Regions from separate parts of the Homo sapiens genome. Here region 2 is linked to region 1. Evidence: promoter capture Hi-C in human tissues and cell types (Jung and others, 2019). All regions are on one chromosome and are shown on one strand. The core of a region is centred on a gene start or on the middle of the fragment in contact, and the rest is flanking DNA. Distances in the headings are between cores, read along the strand shown. Region 1 holds the start of PRAME (PRAME nuclear receptor transcriptional regulator). Region 2 has its middle 22 kb from the start of GGTLC2.

Evidence for each region. Contacts are between HindIII fragments. The study calls those that stand out against the background at their distance.
Region 2: a contact is called between a fragment that was not itself captured here and the fragment with the promoter of PRAME in region 1, in 2 of the 25 tissues and cell types used here (H1 embryonic stem cells and dorsolateral prefrontal cortex).

The regions. Positions count from the first base shown.
Region 1 is chr22:22,556,284-22,562,494 of GRCh38, forward strand. It overlaps PRAME (PRAME nuclear receptor transcriptional regulator), which reads right to left and starts at 2,982. Exons shown (of 6, transcript NM_206956.3): 1 at 2,688-2,982; 2 at 1,262-1,297; 3 at 529-626. The coding sequence starts at 549. LL22NC03-63E9.3 (a long non-coding RNA gene) reads left to right here and starts at 3,060. Exons shown (of 3, transcript NR_027426.2): 1 at 3,060-3,124. It also overlaps IGL. RefSeq lists an enhancer at 2,899-3,193. The HindIII fragment of the contact is 17,569 bases long and covers 1-6,211 here.
Region 2 is chr22:22,663,672-22,669,821 of GRCh38, forward strand. It overlaps IGL, the pseudogene IGLV2-28 and IGLV3-27. Among named protein-coding and RNA genes, the nearest start is that of GGTLC2, 22 kb to the left of the region's middle. RefSeq lists a silencer at 3,194-3,373. The HindIII fragment of the contact is 6,688 bases long and covers 1-5,026 here.

The DNA.
Region 1 (6,211 bases), core at 1,732-4,231:
CATGCATGAGCCACCATGCCTGGCCTAGGGTTAATTTTTATTTTTGGAGACGGAGTCTCGCTCTGTCGCCAGGCTGGAGTGCAGTGGCATGATCTTGGCTTACTGCAACCTTCGCCTCCTGGGTTCAAGCGATTCTCCTGCCTCAGCCACTTGAGTAGCTGGGACTACAGGTGCATGCCACCACGCCCGGCTAACTTTCTGTACTTTTAGTAGACGCGGGGTTTCACAGTGTTAGCCAGGAATGGTCTCAATCTCCTGACCTGGTGATCCGCCCGCCTCAGCCTCCCAAAGTGCTGGGATTACAGGCATGAGCCACCGTGCCCGACCCTAGGGTTGACTCTCATACAAAGACAGCACGGGAAGTGAAATGCTCTTTTGTGGAAATGACCAGAAACAATAAAAGCGGCTCCTGCCTCTTCGTCTACTGTGAGGGACCTCAGGATGCAGCTCCCATCTGGCTCGAGTGACAAGGACAGAGGGGAACAGGGCTTCTCTGAGCACCTCAGACAGCTCAGGGGACCTTCTTACCCACAAACGCCTTCGTTCCATTTTGAAGCGACTTAGGCTGGCCTCAGGACCTCCAACGCTTGGATTTCTAGGTCTCAGTCACTTGTTGCCACGCACGTCTGAGAGTAATAATCAAAATGCTCCAAAAAGAAGAATACATGTATAATATTTACGAAGCAACGGCCTCCTGTGAAAACCTCCGCAAATACTGCTGAGGAAACTGACAACTGGCGACTCAATCCCGCCCTTTCAGTGCAAATCTCTGGCTCCAAACCTGAGCACCAGTGTTTCCTGGGCTGAACCAGGGGGCAGGAGGAACAACAGACCATGTGGTTGGTCACAAGTGACCCCTGTGGTCAAGGACCCTGACTACGGTCTTGCAGCGACATTTCTGCCTCTGCTCCCGCCTTCCTAGGACGCCTACGCCACTGCCTGGGCCGTCCCCAACCCCCAGCACCTTCAGAGGGGCCGAGTCCCAGAGCATCCACCGCATTACAAATGCGCACCCACCCTGGAGAGCTCCAACCACGAGCACCGCCGCCTCGGTTCAAGGCATCCTTACAGCCACAACTCCTCAACTGGGGCCAATTTTCCGGGGCAGGCGGCCCGGGGTGACCCAAGTGGCGCACATTATTTTCTTTGGTCTTCAACCCATTTCCAGAGAGAAAACAGGGACCCGGGACAGGGGTGGTGCTGGGGGCACAAGCCCAAGGTCACCCTGCGGGGAAGCGGAGGAATCAGGGCTCGAACTTACGTTTTTCCTCAGAGAGTTCACCACACCGCGAAGTTGCTGGAAGGAAAGAACGAGACAATGGCTCAGCTAAGCGCCCTAGCCGCTGCGTGGGGCGGGGGGGGCGGCGGTGGGGACCGGGGGGCTGGGCAGCCTGGTCTGACCAATCCCCGTTTCTCAGTCCTTCCAGGGCAAAATCTCACGAGATCCAGTGAGGTCGCCCAGAGAGTCGAGAGGGGCTTGTTTTCAAAGACTGGGAGGAGGAGGGGCAGTGGGGGAGGGGCAGTGGGGGGAGGAGCAGAGGAGAAGGGAGCAGGAGGAGGGGAAAAGGGGAGAGGAAGTTGGAGAGCAGAGGAGGCTGGGGGTGGGGAGGAGATGGGGGTGGGGAAGGAGGGGAGATGGGGGTGGGGAAGGGGGGGCGGGAGGAGGGTTAGGAATGGGGGAAGGAAGACAGGGTGGGGGAGGGGTGGGCATGGGGGAAGGAAGACAGGGTGGGGGAGGGGTGGGCATGGGGAAAGGGAGACAGGGTGGGGGAGGGGTGGGCATGGGGGAAGGGAGACAGGGTGGGGGAGGGGTGGGCATGCGGGAAGGGAGACAGGGTGGGGAACCGAGAAGAAAGACAGTGGGGGGGGATGGAGGAAGGAACACAGGGTGGGGTGGGGGGTCGGGATGGGGGAAGGGAAACAAAGAGTGGTGGAGGCGTGGGGATTAGGAACGGAGACAGAGGGTGGGGGAGGGGTGGGGTGGGGGAAGGGAGACAGGGTGGGGGAGGGGTGAGGATGGCGGAAGGTAGACAAGGCGGGGGAGGGGTGGGGATGGGGGAAGGGAGACAGAAGGGGGGGAGGGGTGGGGATGGGGGAAGGGAGACAGAAGGCGGGCCAGGGCGGGAATGGGGGAAGGGAAACAGGGTGGGGGTGGGGATGAGAGAAGACAGAGGTTGGGGGAGGGGTGGGGATGTGTAAGAAAAACAAAGGGTTGGGGAGGGGGAGGGAAAAGAGGCAGAGAGTGGGGGAGGGGGTGGGGATGTGGAAAGAAAGTCAGAAGGTGGGGGGTGAGGGGTGGGGATGGGTGAATACGTGATGGCTGCGGCCTTTCCCACCAGACAGTAGGGTGGGGGCAGGGTGGAAAAAGGGGGTGCGGTGGGCGAATGGAGAGGCAGTGGGGAGGCGGGGGGCTGACTGGGAGTGTGGGACGGGGTGTTCTGGGATCACGGAGACGTCCAAGTCTGGACTCTGTCCTGGGTCTGTGCTTCTGGCGACCTCCCTTTTCTTCAGTGGGATGCGGGGTGCAGGGGCCGGTTCCAGGGTCCCCTGAGCTCAAGTTCTCGCCCCACCCCGCCCCGCAAGTCTAGAAAAGATGCCCCTGGCCTTGGCTGGGTAATCTCTGGATTTACCTACTTCTGTAACCCCCCGGGCTGAAGAGACCACCCCCCGGGATTCAATTAACTTACTCTCTGGAGCGCGCGTTCCTCCCTGCTCCCGGGAGTCGGTTTCCCAGAACTTTCTGAGGCCCGCGCATGCTCCCCTCGACTCCCCGTGTTTCCACTCTCCACAGAAATCCACGCATTCACGCCCCTCCCCTCCCCCGAGCCTGCAGAGGACTCCGCCCTGCTTTCCCTACATTCAGGGCTGCTCCTTTTGTCGCCAATACAGACCTGTTGACAGGTCACGCCTGGGAAGCGGGTGGGGTGTCCCGGAGCGGTGCTGAGGCGCTGCAGGCCCGGCTTCTGGCTGCGGGGGAGCTGTACCCTGAAGCCTCGCCGGAACTCGCGTCTGGGGCCAGCAGGGGGCACTAGAGTCAACAGGGACTGTATGCAAAACCCACTTCCTCCCAGGCCCTCTAGGGGGATGGTCAGGCTTCTGCAGAGATGGGGAGGATCCTTTCCTGGTAAGGGGAGAGGGACGGGCTAGGAGCCAAGCGGAAGGACCCCGTGTTCAAGGCCCTTCAAGGGACGGGACAGGCGAGGAATCTCTTTGAGTCTTTTGAATTGTTTTATCAGTCAGGCCTGGGAAGTACTCCGCCTCCACAAACTCTGTTTTCCTGAAAGGGGTCGGGGGGGGGGACCCCAACATCTCCTGCCACAGGCTATGATGGGCATGGTGGCTAAGAGCAACAGGCCGCGTGGTGAGGCTGGCTTTTTGTGGCTCTGCCCTGCCATTCCCCGAGGCATCCCCATGCCAGTGAACAGAGCTGCGGGTTCCCAGCTGCACAGATGAATGCACGAACAAAACATAGGTCCATGCAAAGGAAGTCATTGCATTGATCCAGATTCGACCTGGGATTGTCGCATAAAACAGGGCTGATAAAAACCGTTGTGTTTTCACCTTCGAAACAGAGACTCAGCCTCCCCCTCTCTGCTTGAGGCATTCAGCAAAGGTTCGTCCTTGAGTGGCTGTGGATGCTCAAGGACTTACGATTTCTGACTTTATAAAGTTTAGGGTGAAAACAAAAAACAAAATAAGAAGACCATTGTTTTAAAGTGGCCGTTGTAGCTAATTATCTCAAGAAAGCAAACAGGCTGGTACTGAAAGTTACACAGGCGGGCGGCTCCCTGGGAGGGTTGCCCAGCTCTCCTTTTCTGAGACCTGAGCAGGGAGCAGCCAGAGGAGCTTGAAGGGATGGTGTTCAGGGCATGGGAACAGGCTGCACACATCTTCACGGAGTACGGTGCTTGTCCAGTTTGAGAAGGGAAAGAAACTGGGGCAGAGGGCTGATGAGAAGGCAGCAGATGGATAGTGCGGGATTGAAAAGGGGATCCATTTGAAGACTGGCCACCATTATTTATTTTCATCATCTGATTGCTGTTGCTCCATTGAGATCGATGCGTGGAGAACAAGTTGGGGAGTGGAACAAATGGCAGGGAGGGGAGAGAAGTGAGTGAACATGACCCTGGTCCAGCCTCATAGGACAGAGCGTGGTCATGAAGTCCACAGAGGAGGACAGGTAGGGAGGAATCATGGCATGGCCAGGTTGTAGGGCAAGAGGCAGAGAGGAGAGAGGATTGTGGAGGATGCCTGCGGAGTGCCGACTGTCAGTCGAGGCTGGTCCTTTATTTATTTATTTTTTTTTTTGAGACGGAGTCTCGCTCTTGCCCAGGCTGGAGTGCAGTGGCGCGATCTCGGCTCACTGCAAGCTCCGCCTCCCGGGTTCATGCCATTCTCTCGCCTCAGCCTCCCAAGTAGCTGGGACTACAGGTGCCCGCTACCATGCCTGGCTAATTTTTTTGTTTTTAATAGAGACAGGGTTTCACCGTGTTAGCCAGGATGGTCTTGATCTCCTGACCTCATGATCCGCCCACCTCGGCCTCCCAAAGTGCTGGGATTGCAGGCATCAGCCACTGTGCCTGGCCAAGGCTGGTCCTTTCTTTTATGGCGATGGGTGTTTGAAAGTTGCACATACCAAAATAAACTCACTATTTGTTGACCCAAAGTAAAACCCTGAGGGTATGAAAGGGAAGGGCTCATGCTTACATGGCTGAGATAAAAGCTGTCTCAGGAAGCTGGGTGTGGTGGCTCACCCCTGTAATCCCAGCACTTTGGGAGGCCAAGGTTGGAGGATCCCCTGAGGCCAGGAATTGAAGACTAGCCTGAGTGATATAGCAAGACCCCATCTATATTTTTAAAAAGGGTTGGCTGTCTCGGGACTTTTCGAAATAGCCCTGCAAGACATTCCTGTTTTGGAATCACAACAATTTAGATAAGATGCTTTTGAAAGAACACCTGCCTAGGCACAGCGTCTCCACCAATGAACTGATGCCAACTGTGGTTTTGAGTCTTCATAACCGGTGAACTGTTTGCAAGCAGCTTATTTAAATCTCTTTTTTTGCCAATACAACCTTCCCTTTGCCCTCCCCTCTTGAGATGCATATATGGCTTGCCATAGCTGAGCATCTTAGGTTATAATGCTTTTTCTCTTTTTTAATTTTTTTTTGTAAATTTATATTTATTTTTATATTTATTTATTTTTTGAGACAGGGTCTTGCTTTGTCACCCAGGCTGGAGTGTAGTGCATAATCGTAGTTCACCACTGCCTCCAACTCTCGGGCTCAAGCAGTCCTCCCACCTCAGCCTCCTGAGTAGCTAAGACAACAGGCATGCACCACCATGCCCAGCTAATTTATGTATTTACTTTATTAAAAATTTTTTTTTTTTGGTAGAGAGAGTCTCACTGTGTTTCCCAGGCTGGGCTTGAACTCCAGGCCTCAAGTGTTGCTCCCAACTCGACTTCCCAAAGTGCTGGGATTACAGGCATGAGCCACCATGCCCAGCGTATAATTTTGTATTCTAATTCCTGAATAAATTCAACAAATTTGGAGGTGTTTTTTGTCTGATGGTTCCTTTTGGTCGACAACTGGAATGGGAGAGGAACAGTGTGAGGGCAAACATCAAGTGCTTTGCTGAGCTCCGGGTGCTTTTTTTGGATAAGACACAGAAAATACAATAAGATGTCTGTAATGTTTGATTTTTTTCCAGGTTTCTTGAGGTATAATTGACAAATAAAAATTGTATGGATTCAAGGTGTACAATTCATATACATTGATCCACATATACCTTGTTTGATGATTAATCAAATTAGTTAACACATCTTTCACCCCAGCAGTCAATGTGTGTGTGCTCTGTTAGCAAATTTCAATTAATAATATAGCATTATTAACTATAGTTACTATGCTGTATATTAGAGTCTCAGGATTTACCATCTTATAACTAAAATTTTGTAGCCTTTGACCAACATCTCTCATTCCTCCCACCCACAGCCCCTGGGAACTACCATTCTACTCTGCCTCTATGAGTTCCACTTTTTGTGTTTCTTTTTTCCCTTTCCTTTAATTTTTTTTGTATTTGTTATATTACCAAACCATGTCAAAAGAGTTCCACTTTTTAGATTCCACATATTATTAGCTCGTACAGTATTTGTCTTTCTGCATCTGGCTTATTTCACTTAACATAATTTCCTCCAGGTTCATTCGTATTGTTG
Region 2 (6,150 bases), core at 433-2,932, 110 kb after region 1:
AAAGAAGGAAGTATGTACCACTGTGACTCAACAAATAAATCAAAGTAAAATGGACTTAAATCTTTCAATAAGTCATTCACAATAAATATCACTCTGGTGCACACAGAAATGCCTGTTAGCAAACTTTCCCTTCCCCCTGGCCATGTCTCCATGGATCACCTGTGTGCAGAGTGGCTCCGGTCAGTGCTCTGTGTTCCCTCCACAGGGCTCCCCACAACATGTGCCCTGTGTGGATGTGGGTGCATCGCCTGGGGTGGCTGATGTGCTCCAGGGATTCGATGCTGCAGATGCCTCAGCACCAAGGGTGGGGGTGGGAATGGGACAAGGCTGCAGCTGGGGAGACCAAGGATCAACCACACACAGCAGGGGTTTCCACGGGGTGAGCAGCCTCATTTCCTGACAGTAGAGCGAGCCTAAAGGTAGGTGCCAGGCAGTGGTATCTGTGGGGTGGCCCAGGCCTGGAGGGTCACAGAGACACAGGCACCACACAGCAGAGACACTGAGGGCCAGGAGCTCACTCAGGTGAGGGACTTCAGCAGATCTTTCTCTCCTGGTACAAAGAGATCAAGTTCCTACCATCAGAATAGACAAACAAGGACTTTAATCTCCTCAGCTGAGCCCCACTGTCCAGGGAAGAAGTCTCTGAGCCCAGGCCCAGGTGAGAGTGGGATGAGGAGAGGAGCCAGGACACAGATTTTCATGGATGCCCCGCCCTCCTCTGAGGCAGAGCGGATAAGACAGGGCTGGGGGCATACCCAGTGCTTGAGTCTCAGGAGGCAGCGCTCTCGGGACGTCTCCACCATGGCCTGGGCTCTGCTCCTCCTCACCCTCCTCACTCAGGGCACAGGTGATGCCTCCAGGAAAGGGGCCTCAGGGACCTCTGGGCTGATTCTTAGTCTCCTGCTCCTCAGGCTCACCTGGGCCCAGCACTGACTCACTAGAGTGTGTTTTTTCCTTTTTCCGGGCTCTCGGGCTCAGTCTGCCCTGACTCAGCCTCACTCAGTACCCGGGTCTCCTGGACAGTCGGTCACCATCTCCTGCACTGGAACCAGCAGTGACGTTGGGCATTATAACTATGTCTCCTGGTGCCAGCAGCACCCAGGCACATGATTTATGAAGTCAGTTATAGGCTCTCTGGAGTCTCTGATCACTTCTCTGGCTCCCAGCTCTGGCAACATGGCCTCCATGACCATCTCTGGGCTCCAGGCTGAGGACGAGGCTGATTATTACTGCAGTTCATATACAAGCAGCAACATTTTCCACAGTGGACATAAGATTGATTCTCAGGCTCCAAGTCTGGCCAGTGAGCTTCTTTGAGACTCCCTGGGATCCCAGCAGTGACACTGATCACTATTGCTGTCCCACACATCCCAAGTGATGAGGAAGTAAGACCAAAACCCTCCTGAGATTCCTGACTTGTGTCCTGACACCAGGGCTGTTGGGATTCCTGTCTTTCCTTCAAGATTGTTCAAATAAGCAGTGACAGTCACTTCCATGTGAGATATGAGAAGAAGAATAATTCCATATGAACCAAATCCACGAAGCCTACACTGAAGCCTGCCAAGTTCTCTGCAGTCCAGCGCGATGAAGGGAGCATTTTCGTGGGAACTTTTGGGAATATGAGGGGAGCCAGGCTCAGCTATGGGTTCCAGAGACAAAGCTCCTGGATGTTTCTCCCCGGCCTTGGTCCATCACCTGCTACCTCTCCTCACTCTTTCCACAGACACTGCCCCAGGCTAAGCCCCCACAGGACCCTAAGCCTATTCCTGACCCTGAGCTCAGCCCAGGTGATGCTTCAGGAGATGGGATCCTGAGAATGAGCCCCAACATCTCTTTAACCTAAGGTGTGGGGTCATGAGACACCTGTTAGCCATAAGACACCTGTCCCCCACCTGCTCAGGAGACAGTGGAGCAGGCAACAGTGCAGAGAGAACCAGCAGGAGCCAGGCCAGGCCCTGCATCCAAAGCAGGCCCCAGTCCCCACAGATTCTCCAGCTCTAGCCTGTGGTACAGCCCCCACTTTCTGCAGGCTGAAATGGGCTTCTCAGGATGGGCAGGCCATGATGGGGGATGGCAGTGTGTCCACAGGACACAGCCCTGCTGCCTGCCTGACCCTCATGCCCCCTCCTTCCCCACCCTGGTTAATCTCCACCAGAAAGGGCCCAGGTTCAGAACTCAGGACACCTGGATCAGCTCCTGGACTTGCCCCCACTGCTCTCTGTTCTCCTGAGCCACTTAGTCTCTTTTGGCCTCAGTGTTACCTGCTGTGAAGTGAGGAGGCTTATACTGAACTGAGGAAGCTCTTTTCTTCATTCAAAATTAAAAGACAGAAAAACAATGAAAGTCATGTAAATTAAAGCCTGCTGAGGGGATGTCATTTAATGGGCTTCAGTGGGTTTCAGACGTGGAACTTCTTGTCTTTTCTCTGCAGGGATTCCAAGACAGGGGCTCAAAAGAGCTTGCTTTCTGTATGGTGGGAACAGCGGTCCCTAGCTGAGAATAAGCAGGAGATTCCCAGCTTCATCAGGAAGGCAGACTAGGCTAGTGTAGAAATCCTCTCCGTACAAACTCTGAGAGGTGTTGAATAAAATAAAGATAAACATAATTTCATGTTTTCATGGTGCCGATGATGGTGATGTTAGCTCACAACTAAGCTGCAGTGCCTGGAACATCAGGAAATCACAGTGAATCACAGCTGCTCTTATTGGGTGGGAGGTGCACCAGTTTGATGCCTAAGTACATAGAAAGCCTGGGTCCCTGTAGGATGGCACATGCATCTCTCTGGACTTTGAAAGCTTTGCAGAAGAGCTTCAGTTGACTCACTCTAATTAGTCCGGACTGAACAAAACCACTAGAGGAGGGCATTTCAACCCTGAGACACTTCTATAGCCCCAACTTCCTACCCTGCGTGTGCGAACTCTCTGTGCTGGGCTGGGCAGGGCAGATTGGGTCACCCTGCACAGAATGGGGCTGGACTGTCTGGTCCTCAACTTCTGAGGTGACAGGTGCTGTGGAGGCACGTGGAAGAAAAAAGCTCCTGGGCTGAGTCTCCTCCACCAGCTGGGGGCAGCAGAGCTGCAGCCAGGAGCAGTCAGGATTAAGGCTGGGGCTGCCCAGCTGGGGCAAAGAGAAGGCCAGCCTGGCGTTCAACAGGTGTCCAAGAATCAGTCTTCAGACTGAAAGTGAGTGCAGTTCATCCTATCCCCTCAGGCTGCAGTGACCATTCTCTGAGGGTCAGACTCATACAGTGTCACCCCAGGACACTGACAGAAGCCCGGCACAGTGAAGGCCTCACCTGGGAAATGCAGCTGGAGGAGGCTGGGACCAGGTGTCAACTGGGGCAGCTTACTCAGGAAGGGGATTTCTTTGGAGACATCCCAAGGTTGAGGTGCTCTAGGAGGGGGCACAGCGTGAGGTGACGGGGCTCCCAGGGCCCGGGTTCTTCACCCAGGATGGCTGTCTGAGCCTCCTGCCACTCTCAGGGCCTTGTCCCTCTCAGTCCAGCAGCAACCTGGGGAGCTGAGCCCTCTGTCCTGGGCACTTCCAGATACACCATACCTCACTTCCTTCTGCCTCACCTTCCAGCTCCAGGCGGACTCTGACTCAGGGGGAAACTCCTGTGCTCAGGGGAGTCTCGGGTGGGTGGGGTGAAGCATTTGGGATCCTGATCCCTTCATGGGGCATCCCCAGCATCCTTAAGGAGACACTCTTCAGAGGGACAGGGCTTCTCACCTGCCTCAGCTCTGACCATGGGGCTGTCCACACTCAGTGACAGGACACTGACCAGGGATCTGACTGGAGTGACCAGGAACCTGGCTGGGGCAACCAGGGACCACCCACCCTCTGGAGCTCACATGCTGTGCAGAGACCATGACCCTGGGACCCCTTCAGAGACCATGGGGCCTGAAGTTAGATTTTCAGTCCAGTGTGGTTTTCTCCTGCTTTTTGCAAGTTTACATAAAACATTGATGAGAAAAACATACATAAATAACAGACGAGCTGAGGGTGCCAATTGCTAATCTCTTGTGGCAATGAGGGGTGATGTAGCAGGAGCAGCACCATGGCTGAAATGAGACCAGAGGCCCTGTTGACTCCACAGGGGTGTGTGGTTGCTTAAATGACCCAACTATTCCCACTGAATAATCAGCAAGTGTCCCAATGACACAGCACAGCATTTAGATGAAATGAACAAGAGGGGACTGAGTCTGAGGGACCAGGGGGAGGAAGATCATGGGTCCCTGGGCCACCTGCTGCTGAGTCAGGTGTCAGCAAGATCTCTCCGCAGAGCCCAGCTCAGCCCATGGCCAACCTCCTGGAAGGTCCACAGCTCTGCTGAGCCTGGCCCAGGACAGACCCCAGGTCAGCGAGGTTTGGGACAGTGGTCATGAGATTAATTCCCAGAAAGGTGACTGTGATCACAGGGCTTGAAGGCTGCAGCTGATTTTCTAATCTGAGACCCTGCTTCTTCCTCCTGTTGCCTGTGCTGCCCTCACAGCTGGTTTGAGTGACATCTCTCCAGGAGGAGTCGCAGAGGATGTAAATTTGCATAAACGCCAAACACTGACTGCCCCCAAAAGCTGGAGAGGGAATAAGAGAGGCCTGGGGAGCCCAGCTGTGCTGTAGGCTCAGGAGGCAGAGCTCTGAATGTCTCACCATGGCCTGGATCCCTCTCCTGCTCCCCCTCCTCATTCTCTGCACAGGTGCTGCCCCTAGGCTCAGTCTCCACAGACCCCAAGTTGAGCCTGACCTGAATCCTGAGCAAAGCCCTGCCACTGCCTCTGGGGGGGATTCCTGGCAATGCGTCCTTTGTCCTCAAGCCCCCTCTCCTGTCTTTTCTTGCAGTCTCTGTGGCCTCCTATGAGCTGACACAGCCATCCTCAGTGTCAGTGTCTCCGGGACAGACAGCCAGGATCACCTGCTCAGGAGATGTACTGGCAAAAAAATATGCTCGGTGGTTCCAGCAGAAGCCAGGCCAGGCCCCTGTGCTGGTGATTTATAAAGACAGTGAGCGGCCCTCAGGGATCCCTGAGCGATTCTCCGGCTCCAGCTCAGGGACCACAGTCACCTTGACCATCAGCGGGGCCCAGGTTGAGGATGAGGCTGACTATTACTGTTACTCTGCGGCTGACAACAATCTCACAGTGACACAGGCAGATGGAGAAATGAGACACAAACCCCTTGCCATCTGTGTCACCTTCTTCCTCCAGCCCCAGGAGGACTGTGGACAAAGCCACGAACAGGTCTGGCCCAGTACACCCAGATCAGAGACTCTGAGGCCTCCTTCCTTCCAGATCTCTACGGAGGCCCTACAGAAGGTGGATCAATAATAAATTCGGGGTTGGCAGGTCCAGTAGGTCCTGGTGTTTTCTGGGCTGGAGTGTGACTTGGGGAAAAATGACTTGAATGGAAGTACAGTCAGTGGGAGACATCTATTGAGTGGTGATGGTCCCAGTATTTCCTTGTGTGGTGACTGAACCTAGGGCAGTGCCACTACTCTGTGGCCCAAATGCCCTGGGTTATTCCTCTGAGTTCCCCGTGTATTATTGAGATGCTCCAGCCCCCACTCTCATGGTATCCTGATCTGAAGAATCATGGCCAGTGCCCATTGCAGTGTCTCCATCTAGGTGCCATTTTCAGGACTCATGCATCCAGCATCCAAACAAGGCTGTGTGGGAGACCGTGACTTGTCACAGCTGTTCCCCACTGGAAAATGCCACTGAGCTGCAGAGAACTGCTCTCCCAGTGATGTTCCCCCTTCACAGTGTGGTTCAGGTGCAATGCCTGCCTGGTCCCTAGATTTTAATGCCATGTTTTCATTTAAAATAACCACGAAGTGTCTCTTGCTGAGCGCTCCGGTGTAACACATTCCCAGTCATGCCTCTCACAATTTTCTTTCTGACAAAATTTCCTGAAACCCTATTGCAATGAATTCTCCCTCTCAGAGTAGGATTGCAGGGAGTTCACAAATTAACAAACAAACCAAATACTGTCTAGAAGAAAGAGGATCAAAGAGGAGAGAGCTGCACAGGGAGCGCACTCTGGAGTCTGCAGATATTCATGAGCACCGATGAGCATGTGCATGGGAGGAAACCTTCTGTGATAGAGAAAATAACCATTCAAAGACATTTGAGGAAACACTCCATAGAGCTC